Linked DNA regions of Homo sapiens: regions 1, 2 and 3 are each linked to region 4. Evidence: promoter capture Hi-C in 16 types of primary human blood cells and fetal thymus (Javierre and others, 2016). All regions are on one chromosome and are shown on one strand. Each heading gives the region's core, a stretch centred on a gene start or on the middle of the fragment in contact. The rest is flanking DNA. Distances are from core to core; before and after follow the strand shown. Region 1 overlaps GALC (galactosylceramidase). Region 2 overlaps GALC (galactosylceramidase). Region 3 overlaps GALC (galactosylceramidase). Region 4 holds the start of PTPN21 (protein tyrosine phosphatase non-receptor type 21).

Evidence for each region. The method cuts DNA at HindIII sites, captures the fragments that hold promoters and counts their contacts. A CHiCAGO score of 5 or more calls a contact.
Region 1: a contact is called between a fragment that was not itself captured here and the fragment with the promoter of PTPN21 in region 4, in 5 of 17 cell types (erythroblasts, naive B cells, total CD8 T cells and 2 more). The highest score is 7.0, in erythroblasts.
Region 2: a contact is called between a fragment that was not itself captured here and the fragment with the promoter of PTPN21 in region 4, in 4 of 17 cell types (monocytes, M0 macrophages, naive CD8 T cells and 1 more). The highest score is 7.6, in monocytes.
Region 3: a contact is called between a fragment that was not itself captured here and the fragment with the promoter of PTPN21 in region 4, in 1 of 17 cell types (total CD4 T cells). The highest score is 5.4, in total CD4 T cells.

What each region holds. Positions count from the first base shown.
Region 1 is chr14:87,972,645-87,975,344 of GRCh38, forward strand. The region is part of intron 7 of GALC (galactosylceramidase); the gene reads right to left. Among named protein-coding and RNA genes, the nearest start is that of GALC, 19 kb to the right of the region's middle. The HindIII fragment of the contact is 800 bases long and covers 889-1,688 here.
Region 2 is chr14:87,934,630-87,937,329 of GRCh38, forward strand. It overlaps GALC (galactosylceramidase), which reads right to left. Exons shown (of 17, transcript NM_000153.4): 17 at 1-249. The coding sequence ends at 103. Among named protein-coding and RNA genes, the nearest start is that of GALC, 57 kb to the right of the region's middle. The HindIII fragment of the contact is 5,069 bases long and covers 1-2,700 here.
Region 3 is chr14:87,953,593-87,956,601 of GRCh38, forward strand. All of the region lies in intron 10 of GALC (galactosylceramidase), which reads right to left. It also overlaps the pseudogene SHLD2P2. Among named protein-coding and RNA genes, the nearest start is that of GALC, 38 kb to the right of the region's middle. RefSeq lists an enhancer at 1,598-1,767. The HindIII fragment of the contact is 4,341 bases long and covers 1-3,009 here.
Region 4 is chr14:88,553,738-88,556,487 of GRCh38, forward strand. PTPN21 (protein tyrosine phosphatase non-receptor type 21) reads right to left here and starts at 1,270. Exons shown (of 19, transcript NM_007039.4): 1 at 914-1,270. LOC124903405 (proline-rich protein 2-like) reads right to left here. Exons shown (of 2, transcript XM_047432047.1): 2 at 920-1,323. The coding sequence ends at 959. RefSeq lists a silencer at 1,228-1,277. The HindIII fragment of the contact is 3,064 bases long and covers 1-2,159 here.

The sequences.
Region 1 (2,700 bases), core at 39-2,538, 580 kb before region 4:
AACACACTTTGGAAATGAAGGCTAAACTAGAAGGAACATAAGACAGAACAGACACTGTGGAAAACACAGTGAGGAATATAGAATAGTAAGGATAAAATAATAGAAAACATAAATAAAGAGATAGAGAAAAATTCAGAGAAATACAAAATAAAGGCATATGCAAATAAGACCAAAGTATAACTGGTGCTTCTAAAAAGAAAACCAAAGTAATGGAGTGGAATAATGATTTAACTTATAACTTAAGTAAACCTTACTGAAATAAGAAAATACTTAAATATAGACATTAAGAGAGCATATACTATATATCTGGAAATGGTAAAGTGTATACAACAACTAAACTTTAAAGATGAATAAAAATATTCTTTGGGCATAAAGGAATTGTGTCGTTACTTATAAGGAAAAGGAAATATCTCTGGAGTCAAAATTCTCAATAGCAACATTTTATGTAAATAACTAATGGAGCAAATTTTATGATATATTTACACATATTTGAGAATTAAAAAAGGATTATATCCAGTCAAACTGTCCTTCAAGTATAAAGGTCATAGATAAACATCAACAAACATCTGAACACATCAAGAAATATTGTTTCCATTAGCACTTTCTGAGACATTTAATAGATAATTACACTTCTGATATCCAAGAAAATGAGGGAGAAACTTTGGCAAAGGACTTGAAGGTGAGCATTTAATATGTTTAATGGTAGAGTGAGATTAAAAGAAATAGTAATTAAATTATATATATAACTATTACACACTTGGCTAAAGTACAACTAATACAGCTACATGAAGTAGGACAAGAAGGAAAGAAGGTGAAATGTAAACTAAGTTTGCAGATTATTTGGGAGTAAACAGTTAAAACTTGTAGCTGTCAAATCAATATAGTAGAAGCTTAAGTTCATGTAAGAGTACAAAAATTAAAACTAAGATAATTCTGGTAATTAAAATTCCACGGTAGGGGAGAAAAAGGGAGGAAGAAGTTATCAAATAATTTTAGTATTGCTCATAGTAAACCAACAGACAATAACTAAACGAAGAAGAAACCAAGAGTATTAGTATGAAGCAGTTCCTCAACCTCAGCACTATTAACATTTTGGGCTGGATCATTTTTTGTTATGGGAAAACTATCCTGTGTACTAAAGGATGTTTAGAAACATTCGTGGCCTCCATCCATCGGATTCCAGTGGCACCGCCCTACCTATTTGTGGCAATTAAAAATATTTCCAGGCATTGCCAAATGTCCGTCTGGGAGGCAAAATTATTCTCAGTTGAAAATACTGGTATAAATCAGTATAAATGTAATTGACAGAACAAAAACCAAACCTTGCTAAATAACAAAAGAAACACCTCCTTAAATAAGTGCAAAGTAAACAAATCACATAGCAGAATAGCTTGTATTAGTACATGGATAGTATAAATCATTCAATAACAAAAGACAATATAGTAGTATAGAAAACACAAACATCAGTTATATTTAAAAATGAGTTTAACTCATTCATTAAAATATAAAGATTTTCAGAGGAACTTTAAAAAAGCAAAATCTAACTCTATGCTATATGCAAGCAATGCACATAAAAGAAAACGGCCTTGAAAGGTAAAGAATAAAAGGGCAAAAATATATTAGGCAAATCCTAATGAAAAGAAAGCATAGATCTCTTAGTTACACAGAAAGCAGAACTCAGGCCAAGAAGCTTTAAACGAGACAAAGAATGGCATTTTCTAATGATAAGAAATAAATCATAATGAAGATAAAACATTCATCAGTATTTACATACCAAATAACAAAGCAGAAGCTTCCAGTATTTACGTACCAAATAACAAAGCAGAAGCTTCCACACAGCAAAAACTGCCTAAGATTGAAAGGAGAAATAGACCCCACTAACATAAGGAAACAAACACACCTGGGTAGCCCTGAACAGTTCAAGTGGACAAAATCGTTAAGATACAAAATACCTGAACAATATAACCAAAAGGTTATATATAAACTCAATTCTGTATCCTAATAAAGAATACATCTTAATAAATCAAAATATGCTCTTGAGATAGTCAAGAAAAAAGCGAAGGTATTTTTTCAGATTTTTTTTTAATAAGCTCCTGAGAAATTTCCCAAAAAAATGTAAATAATACATTTGGTATTAAATGGCCACAGTGCAATAAAATTAGAAATTAATGATAAAACAGCCCTATGAGATAAAACTAAAGCAGTACTCAGAGGAAAATTCATTACATTAAAATACCTATATCAATAAAAAATGAAGTACATATCCAAGTCCTTCATGAAGATACAGTAAAACCCATATTTTCATGCAATATTTTTATAAGAAAATATATTTAAGATTAACACAACTTTGTTTTCCTTCAAGACTTCAACTATTTATGAAAGCTTTAACAACAGCAAAACTTTCATTTTAATTTCAATGTATAAAATGTTTAAATATAATTAAGAAATTTTATCTTGCAAAAAAAAATTAAGCCTAAATCTAACCTAACCTAAATCTAACCTAAACTACCAATTTCAAAAACCATTGAAAAAGGATAGATGAGCAAGTTATATTAAACTGTAGGGGTTGAAATCAGTAAAATCCAGACTGACACAAAGTTTGTAAGACAAACAACCCCGTTCTTCAACAAATTAAAAGAAAGAAAAAGAGCAAGAACATAAAGATTAGAATAGATTTAAATATCAACCAATCACCATGCA
Region 2 (2,700 bases), core at 1-2,500, 620 kb before region 4:
AAAAGCCTCATATACTGTTCCAATGAAACAAGAATTGGCTCTGAACCAAAACCAAAAAGAAGGGAAGAAAATCCAGAGTATTCTATGATGCCCTGTTAAGTATTAGCGTGTGGCTTCCACAAGAAAGTTGTCAAACTGTGCAAATTCAAAGGAGTGAGTTCCAATTGCAGCCCAGCCATTCTTTGGAAAATTCACAGGGATGTCTGTCCACAGAGACTTGTCATTCAGCATGCCAGAGGTGAAATGACCCTAGAGTAGAAAGAAACACATTCCTTGAAACCATATGAAAATGGTCCTCTGAAGTCTGTTTCTTGATCATGTATGGCCCACTACTTAGTGGAGCAAATGTACTACTCACTCAAGACTTAACCACAGCAAAACACAATTCCACAAGTTTGAGCAAAAGTTTAAAATACAGGAAAAAACTCTAGGAAGAAATTCTTATCTACCTACTTAAATCGTTCCCAAAGTACAAGGAATACCTCAATATTTCCTGTGCTCCACCAAAATTTAAAACCAACAAAATGCAAAACTTTTCAGGCATTATTATAAAGTTTTAGAAAAAAGCTCATTAAAATTTAACAAAAGTTATTTATAAGTAGTCACATGTACAAGTGGTGTGGCTAACAGCCACCAGCTCTTCAGACATGACTGCTGGAGTCAAAACATCTGCTTCTACCTCATTGCTTCCTTAAGGTTTTCATTAAGGAGCCTCTGCCCAGCCAGAAGAAAAATAATTAACCTTAGTTTTTGTGTTTTGTTGCCATGAATAGAATATCACTTCAAAGCCATATGAAGCTCCTACCCTTAAGTTGGAAAAACAGTAACCATCAGTTAAAGTGATGCTGGAGTAGGGTGCAGCGGGTGGAAGAAGGGAGGCATCTATAAGGTGTGACTTACTGGTCACTGACAGTGAAAGAAAAAATTACACCTTCCTCCGAATGTTGCCATTCTACTTAGCTCAGTGCCTGGCACATGGTAAACAATAAATCTCAGCTCTTATTATCTTTATGATAGTACATTTATGAGCACATATTCACAGCATACTAACTACAGTCAATCATATAAAACTAGCTACTCTCAGAAGGTGAAGAGCTCAAAACTCAAAGCACTGGGCCAAGAACCAGAATAAATCTGCTTTTAAGTCTTGGAAGTATAACGTAATGGGCCTTAATTTAGTTCTTTTATTTTATGCGTGGAAACACTGAGGCTTAATAGATTAAAGCTCAAAGTCACAGGTTTTCACTCCAAGTTACCTAGCTCCAAATTCAGAGCCACATTCCTATTACTACAGACTTGCACAGCTATCTTCAGCTCTAGAAGTGCTTACTGAACATCTTCTGCTGCCATCAAACACTCAATATTAACACCGAGCCAAGGGACTCAAATCACAGATCACATTAAGCACAAAACCTGTCTAACAGGACCTTATCTCTCCTGACTCCCCAGACTTCAGCCACCCCAGCCTCCAGGCTGCTCTTCACACAATGTCAGCTACACCTGCCTTTTGCACCTGCCACTTGGTCTGCTCAAATTGTTCTTCCCAGCATTCAGGTCTGCACTCAAGTACTACCCACTCAGTGAGGTCTTTCCTCACCTCCCTGGTTAGAGAATCAGGGTAACAGAGCTACTTTATCTCATGACTCTATTTTTTCTTCATAATCATTTATAAACTTATTTACAAGTTTATTATCTCAGGATAGGGCTCAGCAAACTATGACCTACATGCCAACCGCCCTTTTTTTAATAAATAAAATCTTACTGAAACACAGCCACATCCATTGTCTATGGCTTTTTTTCTCATTATTGTCTATTGTCTATGGCTTTTTTACTCATTACAATAGCCGAACTGGGTAGCCACAGCAGAGACCACATGGCCCACGAAGTCTAAAATATTTACTATCTGGCCCTTTACAGAAAAAGTTGCCAACCCCTGTCCTAGAAGAATATATGCTCTAAGAGAGCAGGAATCTTGTCTGTTTCGTTCGCTGCTGTATCCCTAGGACTTAGTAAAGTGCATACAGTAGGGGCTTAATAAAAATGTGTTGAATATAAGAATGAAACACATTTAACCCTCAAAACAACCTCACAGAAGTTATCTCCATTTTGCAGATAAGGAAATGGATACTCAAAGAGGTGGAATAACTTGCTAGAAGTCTCAGCATGTGTTAGTGAGGAAATACGAATGCTGGTCTGTCTGGTTCCAAACACTCCTACTCCTAAAAATATTAACTTGACTCATTAAGTGCTTACCACATATCAGGTACTATATATATATATATATTTATTTATTTTCTCATTGAATCTTCATAAGAAAAGTGTTCTTCATGATATCATGGATGGGAAAATTGAAGCTGTGCAATATAAAATACTTGCAAGTAGAATATAGTAGACTTCAAAGTCCATTGTGCTACCCACCATGCAACAGAACTGGGACAAGTCACCTGACAAGTGCTGAGAAGAATTCAACAGGTGGCTGATAGTCAGTGACAAAATCCTCACATTAGCTGTAATTTGGAATATGGGCAACATAGAAGATGATGTTTTGTTTTTTTTATTTACGCAAAGAAGATTTATATGTCAAATACTGTTTAATGCACTGGGAATTTAAGATGAACAAGAAAGACAAGGTCCCTGCTCTTATGGAGCTTATATTCTAGTAGGAGATGGACAGATATGCACACACACACAAAATGAGAG
Region 3 (3,009 bases), core at 231-2,730, 600 kb before region 4:
CTAAACACCTTCCACAAAAGTGCTATTAAAAGAAGCTGCACCTCTGAAGATAAAGTGGGCCAGTCTGAAGCTCTATCTAGAGTCCTTCAAGTAGCTAAGAAAATGAAGTTGATTTCTAATGCAGGAGATTCTGTTGTAGAAATGGATCAGAGGAATGTGTCTGAATTTAAGGGTATTAAAAAAAGTCATTAATAAAAAACTGTGATTCTAAAAGCCAGAAGTATGATTGTTTAGTCATGGTGCTATCTCCATGTCATGTGAAGGAAATAAACATAAAATTCGGACCAAATTCTGGCTCTAAAGTGCCTTTAGCAACAGTTACAGTAATTGATCAATCAGAAACTAAGAAGGTTTTTCTGTAGAGGACTGCAGCATTTTGGGCATATACAGTGTTTCTTGGAGATATAATTTTACTCGCAGATGTTGTTATTCATGAGGACCAATGGGTTGGCGAGACAGTACTACAATCAACATTTAGCAGTCAGTTATTAAATCTTGGGAGTTATTCATCTATTCAGCCTGAAGAATATTCCAGTGTAGTTAGTGATGTTGTACTTCAAGACCTACTGGCACAGGTGTCCTCAAAACATTCCTACCTCAGAGATCTTCCTCCGAGGCAGCCTCAGAGGGTGAACAGTATAGACTTTATAGAATTGGAGCACCTTCAGCCTGATGTATTAGTCCACACAATACTAAGAGTTGTTGATTTCACTATACTGACAGAGGCAGTATACAGTTATAGAGGACAGAAGCAGAAAAAGTTATGTTAACAGTGGAACAGGCCCAAGATCAACATTATGTGCTTGTATTATGGAGTCCTGGAGCAGCCTGGTACCCTCAACTGCAAAGGAAAAAAGGTTATATTTGGGAATTTAAATATCTTTTTGTTCAGCGCAATTACACACTAGAAAACCTAAAATCGCATACAATGCCTTGGTCATCCTGTGAGTGCTTGTTTGATGATGATGTAAGGGCAATTACATTTAAAGCAAAATTTCAAAAAAGTGCACCTTCCTTTTGGAAGATATCAGACTTAGCAACCCACCTAGAGGATAAATGTTCAGGAGTGGTTCTAATTAAAGCCCAGATTTCAGAGCTGTCATTTCCTATTACGGCAGCTCAGAAGATAGCTCTAAATGCTCACAGTTCTCTGAAGAGTATTTCTTTTCTTCTCTTCCCAACATCATATATACTGGCTGCGCAAAATATGGATTGGAACTAGAAACAGATAAGAACAGGATCTACAAACAATGTTTTAGCTGCTTGCCATTTACTATGAAGAAAATATACTATAGGCCAGCTTTAATGACTGTAGTTGATGGAAGACATGATGTTTACATCCGTGTAGACTCAAAGCTGATAGAGAAGATTCTTCTCAACATTTTTGCAGACTGCCTCAACAGAGTGATAGTTACTTCCTCAGAGATCACCTATGGGATGGTCATGGCAGACCTGTTACACTCCTTGTCGGCAGTCAGCGCAGAACCTTGTGTATCAAAGATTCAGAGCCTTTTTGTGTTAGATGAAAGCAGCTATCCATTACAACAAGATTTCTCCCTCCTGGATTTTTATCCTGACACTGTAAAGCATGGAGCCGATGCCCTTTTCTGAGGCCAGAGGAAGAAATGGCAGGCATTTCAAGGAAGAAGTACTGAAATGATTTGTCTTTTGAAGTAAATAAACGATAGGGTTTTTGCTTTGGATTTTTTATTAAATACATTTTACAAAGAGAATTTCAATTAAAACTTTTTTCTAAGAAAATCCTGTGAGGTTTAAAAAGATTATTTTTGTTTTTTGGTTTCTTCCTTTCTTCTGGAGAAATGATCTACCAGTCAAGGCAATATGTAGCAGATCCCTGGGAATTAAAGGTTTGCCCATTTGTTCACTGTATTTAGTCCCTGCTACGTTCCAGGCATTGTACTAAGTATGAGGAACCACAGGGAAGACATTCCCTCAGAAACTGCTGCAGTGCTTTTACTTATCCCTACCTAAAAACCGTCAATGTGAAATCATTTCCTTGATTACAACTATACATGATAATGGATTAGTTTATATAAACCTCTGTTTAGACAAGTTCAAGACAAGCGTGTCTTTCTATAAAAAGCATTGAAAACGAAGGAAATGAGATCATGTTTCAATTTATTAAAGCGGGGAAGAGCGTTCTGTGGTTAGTTCGTGTCTAGGATTTGAGTGCCTTACTGAATGTATTTAGCAAACATGTAGCAATCTGTTCTCTCACTGTGATTGTAGAAGAAGCTCATGTAAAATGATAGTCATTAATGAGGAAGTATAGAGTGGTACTTATTCTGTAAGTTCAGAGTATGCCGAGTATTAATAGATTATCATACTGCCTGAAAATAAATTTATGATGAAATGAAAAAAAAAAGTGACAGTTTAAAAAAAAAAATCTCCTGTGGTCAGAAGAAAACTAAAACACTAACTTCAAACCACCCCTGAAAATGAGCTGGAATTTAATTGGATCAGTCTTTGGAACAATTTAAGTCCCCAGGGCATTGTTTAAAACAATACAGAAATCCACCAGCAATTAGTGTAACTTACAGTGAGGTGTGATCAAGGAACCAGACAGAGTCCTGGAAAAACAAATCCCAGGGTGACTGTGGATATGCCCAAAACCACATTCTCCAAGGAGCAACATTTCAGGCTTTACAGTGTGTGGAGGGGAAGAAGGAGGGAACAGAGTTAACTAAAATACTCCAGCAAATCACTAAGTAAATAAATAAACAACAACAAGCCTCAAGGGGGAGAGGATCAATGCCCAGAGTTGATAGCATATATTATATACGAGTTGCTACCATATATTATATATAAGGTCCAGTTTCCAACAACACACACAAAAAATGAGACATTCAAAGAAATAGGCATTATTTCATTCTTTCTATGCTGAAGAGTATTTCATGATGTGTGTGTGTATATGTATATACATACACCATATATATATACACGCACCATATATATATATATACACACACACCATATATATACACACAC
Region 4 (2,750 bases), core at 20-2,519:
CTCTACAACCCTTTCCAAAAGTTCCTCAAATACACTTTACCTCTCAATCTTACAGCGTTTCCCCTTTCCTATTAAGGTCCTTACCACATGTAATTTTGCCAAAGTTGCTTTAAAATAAAATAAGCACTAAAAGGAGAGAGTATGTGACATTTTTAGAGTAATATCTATAGCTATAGCATTAAACCCATGTTTCTCACGGAGAAAACATCTGTGCGTAGATGCTCCAGAATAAAATGCCCTAGAAACGAAACGGACTATATTCAGAGTAAAATTACTGTCGTGTCCCAAACTTAAAAAAATAAATAAACTGTCAGCAACTATTAGGCATACAGCAGTTGTCACTTGGAGCACACGAATGTTCTGAATGTGTTTGTGAGCATACGCTATTAGTATAAGGCTTTCTCAGCAAAAAAGAAAATAGGACGAGCATGCCAAGAGCGGCCAATCTAATCAGGATTTGCAGAAATCACAAGTCGGAATTTGCAGATCCAAGAATTCTTGTTTCCAGAGTAAATACTCTACTCCAAAAACAAACCCAGGCGTTACCAAACAGTCCTTCCCTGCGCCCCTTCTCGCCAAAGTTATCTGGCGAATTTCACGTTTATATATTCTGAGAGGCACAAATATGCCTAACACATTTAAAACCCTGATCCAGAATTAACCCGCAACAATCGGCCAGGGCGTTCGGAATAGAAGTTCAAGACTCCTTTTAGAAATTACTCAAGTATATGAGAGCGAACCTGAAAAACAAGACTTTTCTCTTTGTTACGCTCCCGCTACGGGTCTGGCCGCCGCGCCCCATTCTCCGGGATTCCGGGGCCGCGGGCGCGCTCCGGGGTCCGGGCGAGTGGACACACCCCACCGCTCGGGCCAGCCGCCCGCCCCTCCCGCCGGCCGGGGACCGCGCCCTCACCTGCTCCCGCTCCCGCTCCCGCATCCTCGGGGCCGCGCGCCCCGCTCAGCGACCCGCCTCCCGGGGCCCCGCCGCGCGGCCGCCGCAGCCGCACCCGCACGCCAGCCCGGGCCGCGGCGCGCTCATGGGGCTCGCACGCCTCACTTCCTGTCTCCAAAAACCCGGCTCGCAGACCATTCCCCTGGGCAGAGTCCGGCGGTGGCGACGGCGAGGGGCGAGGCCTGGAGGTGGGACCGGCCGGCGAGGAGCGCCGCACAAAGAAGCCCCGTGGGGGCGGGGGGTGGCAGGAGGACGGACAGACCGTCGGACCGACGCGGGACGCGCGGCCGGAGCAGCGGGGCGGCCGGGCCCAGGCGTCCCTCCCCCTGAGCCGGGCGGGCGGATCCGGGGAGGCGGCGGCGGCCCGTGACCTCAGAGAGTTGGAATGCGGGCAGCCGCGCGGGGGAGGCGCGGACAGCTGCGCCCGGCCGCCGGGGAGGGGGCGCGCCGCTGCTTTTTTTAATCGTATGACCACTTATTTTAAGAGTTTCCAAATAAAGCAAGGCTTTTAATAAAATGAGTGGAGGGGGTATTATTTAGGTTCCAGATAAAGGGTTTTATTCCTGTGTTATTAGGTAGGCTGTAAAATGCTGTTATTGATGGTTATTCGTTTACTCTGGTATATTTCTGAACACTATTGGAATACATTTCTTCTTTTCCTGCTTGCTCCTAAGGTTATGCCCCATATAACTAGACACTTCCAGTACTGGGTGGGAAAGCCCCCCCACCAAAAATGGTTCATATGCCTCAAATAACCTGTCAGTCCCCAAAAGGGAGCTGTCTGCTTATGCAATATAGAGCAGAACTGTTAAGGATGGAGACTTGACAAAGTTGTCAAATCCCAGCTCCAACATTTACTAGCTGGATGACCTTGTGCAAGTTTCTTAACTTCTCTTTACCTGTTTCCTCTCCTATAAAAGAGGGATATTAATATCTTTGCACAGCAGGGGTGGGGGAAATAAATACTAAGCAATATCCAATAACTTGTGTAAAGTATATATGAAGTGTTTCGTTTAAGGTTTATTATACAGTATTCTTGTACTGCATTATTACTGTATTGCAGCACTTAAGCTGAGGAATAAAACTGTGTGACCCTACCACTATTACAATAGTGTAAGATCTTTTCTTGGCATGTGGAACACAGAACCTTTTAATTTATGTAAATTTTAATTTCAGTGATTTTGTTTTAATGCTGTTGTTTCTGGAAAGCTTTTTAAAGTATTGTTTCATGTAAATCTCATTTTCTTAAACAATTAACAAAAACTTTTGAATACTTAACTCTGCATGAGACGTGGTCCCTGCACAACACGGACTTTTGGTTTAGTGGGTGATAAACGCACCTGCACACCACACACGCAGTACAAGGCCAAAGTGGGGAGCATTGTCATAGAGGTATGAGTGCTATCCAAGAGCAAAGCCCAGCAAGGTGCATCTTGGGTCGTTTAGCTAAAGGCAAATAAGATTACCTGTGTTTCTAAGGGAAAAAAAATAGATCAATTCTGTTTGTAATTGATATTTCAACTGAACTCTATGAGGGGGTCAATTTGTGTGTGAGCAAAGAAAAGAGATCTAAAAAGAAGTCACTTTGCTGGCTTCCCAAGGTAGAAAAACTGGAATCATGTGTGACTTCTCCCATTATCATCTCCAGCCTGTCATCAAGACCTGGTATTTCCTCCTTTGAAATGTCTCATGAATTCTTTGTTTCCTTTCTGTTCCCCCTGGAACATTCTAAATCCAAACCCTCATCATTTTACATCCGGATTATTGCAACAAGGGTGGTCTCCTGGCATCTGGTTTC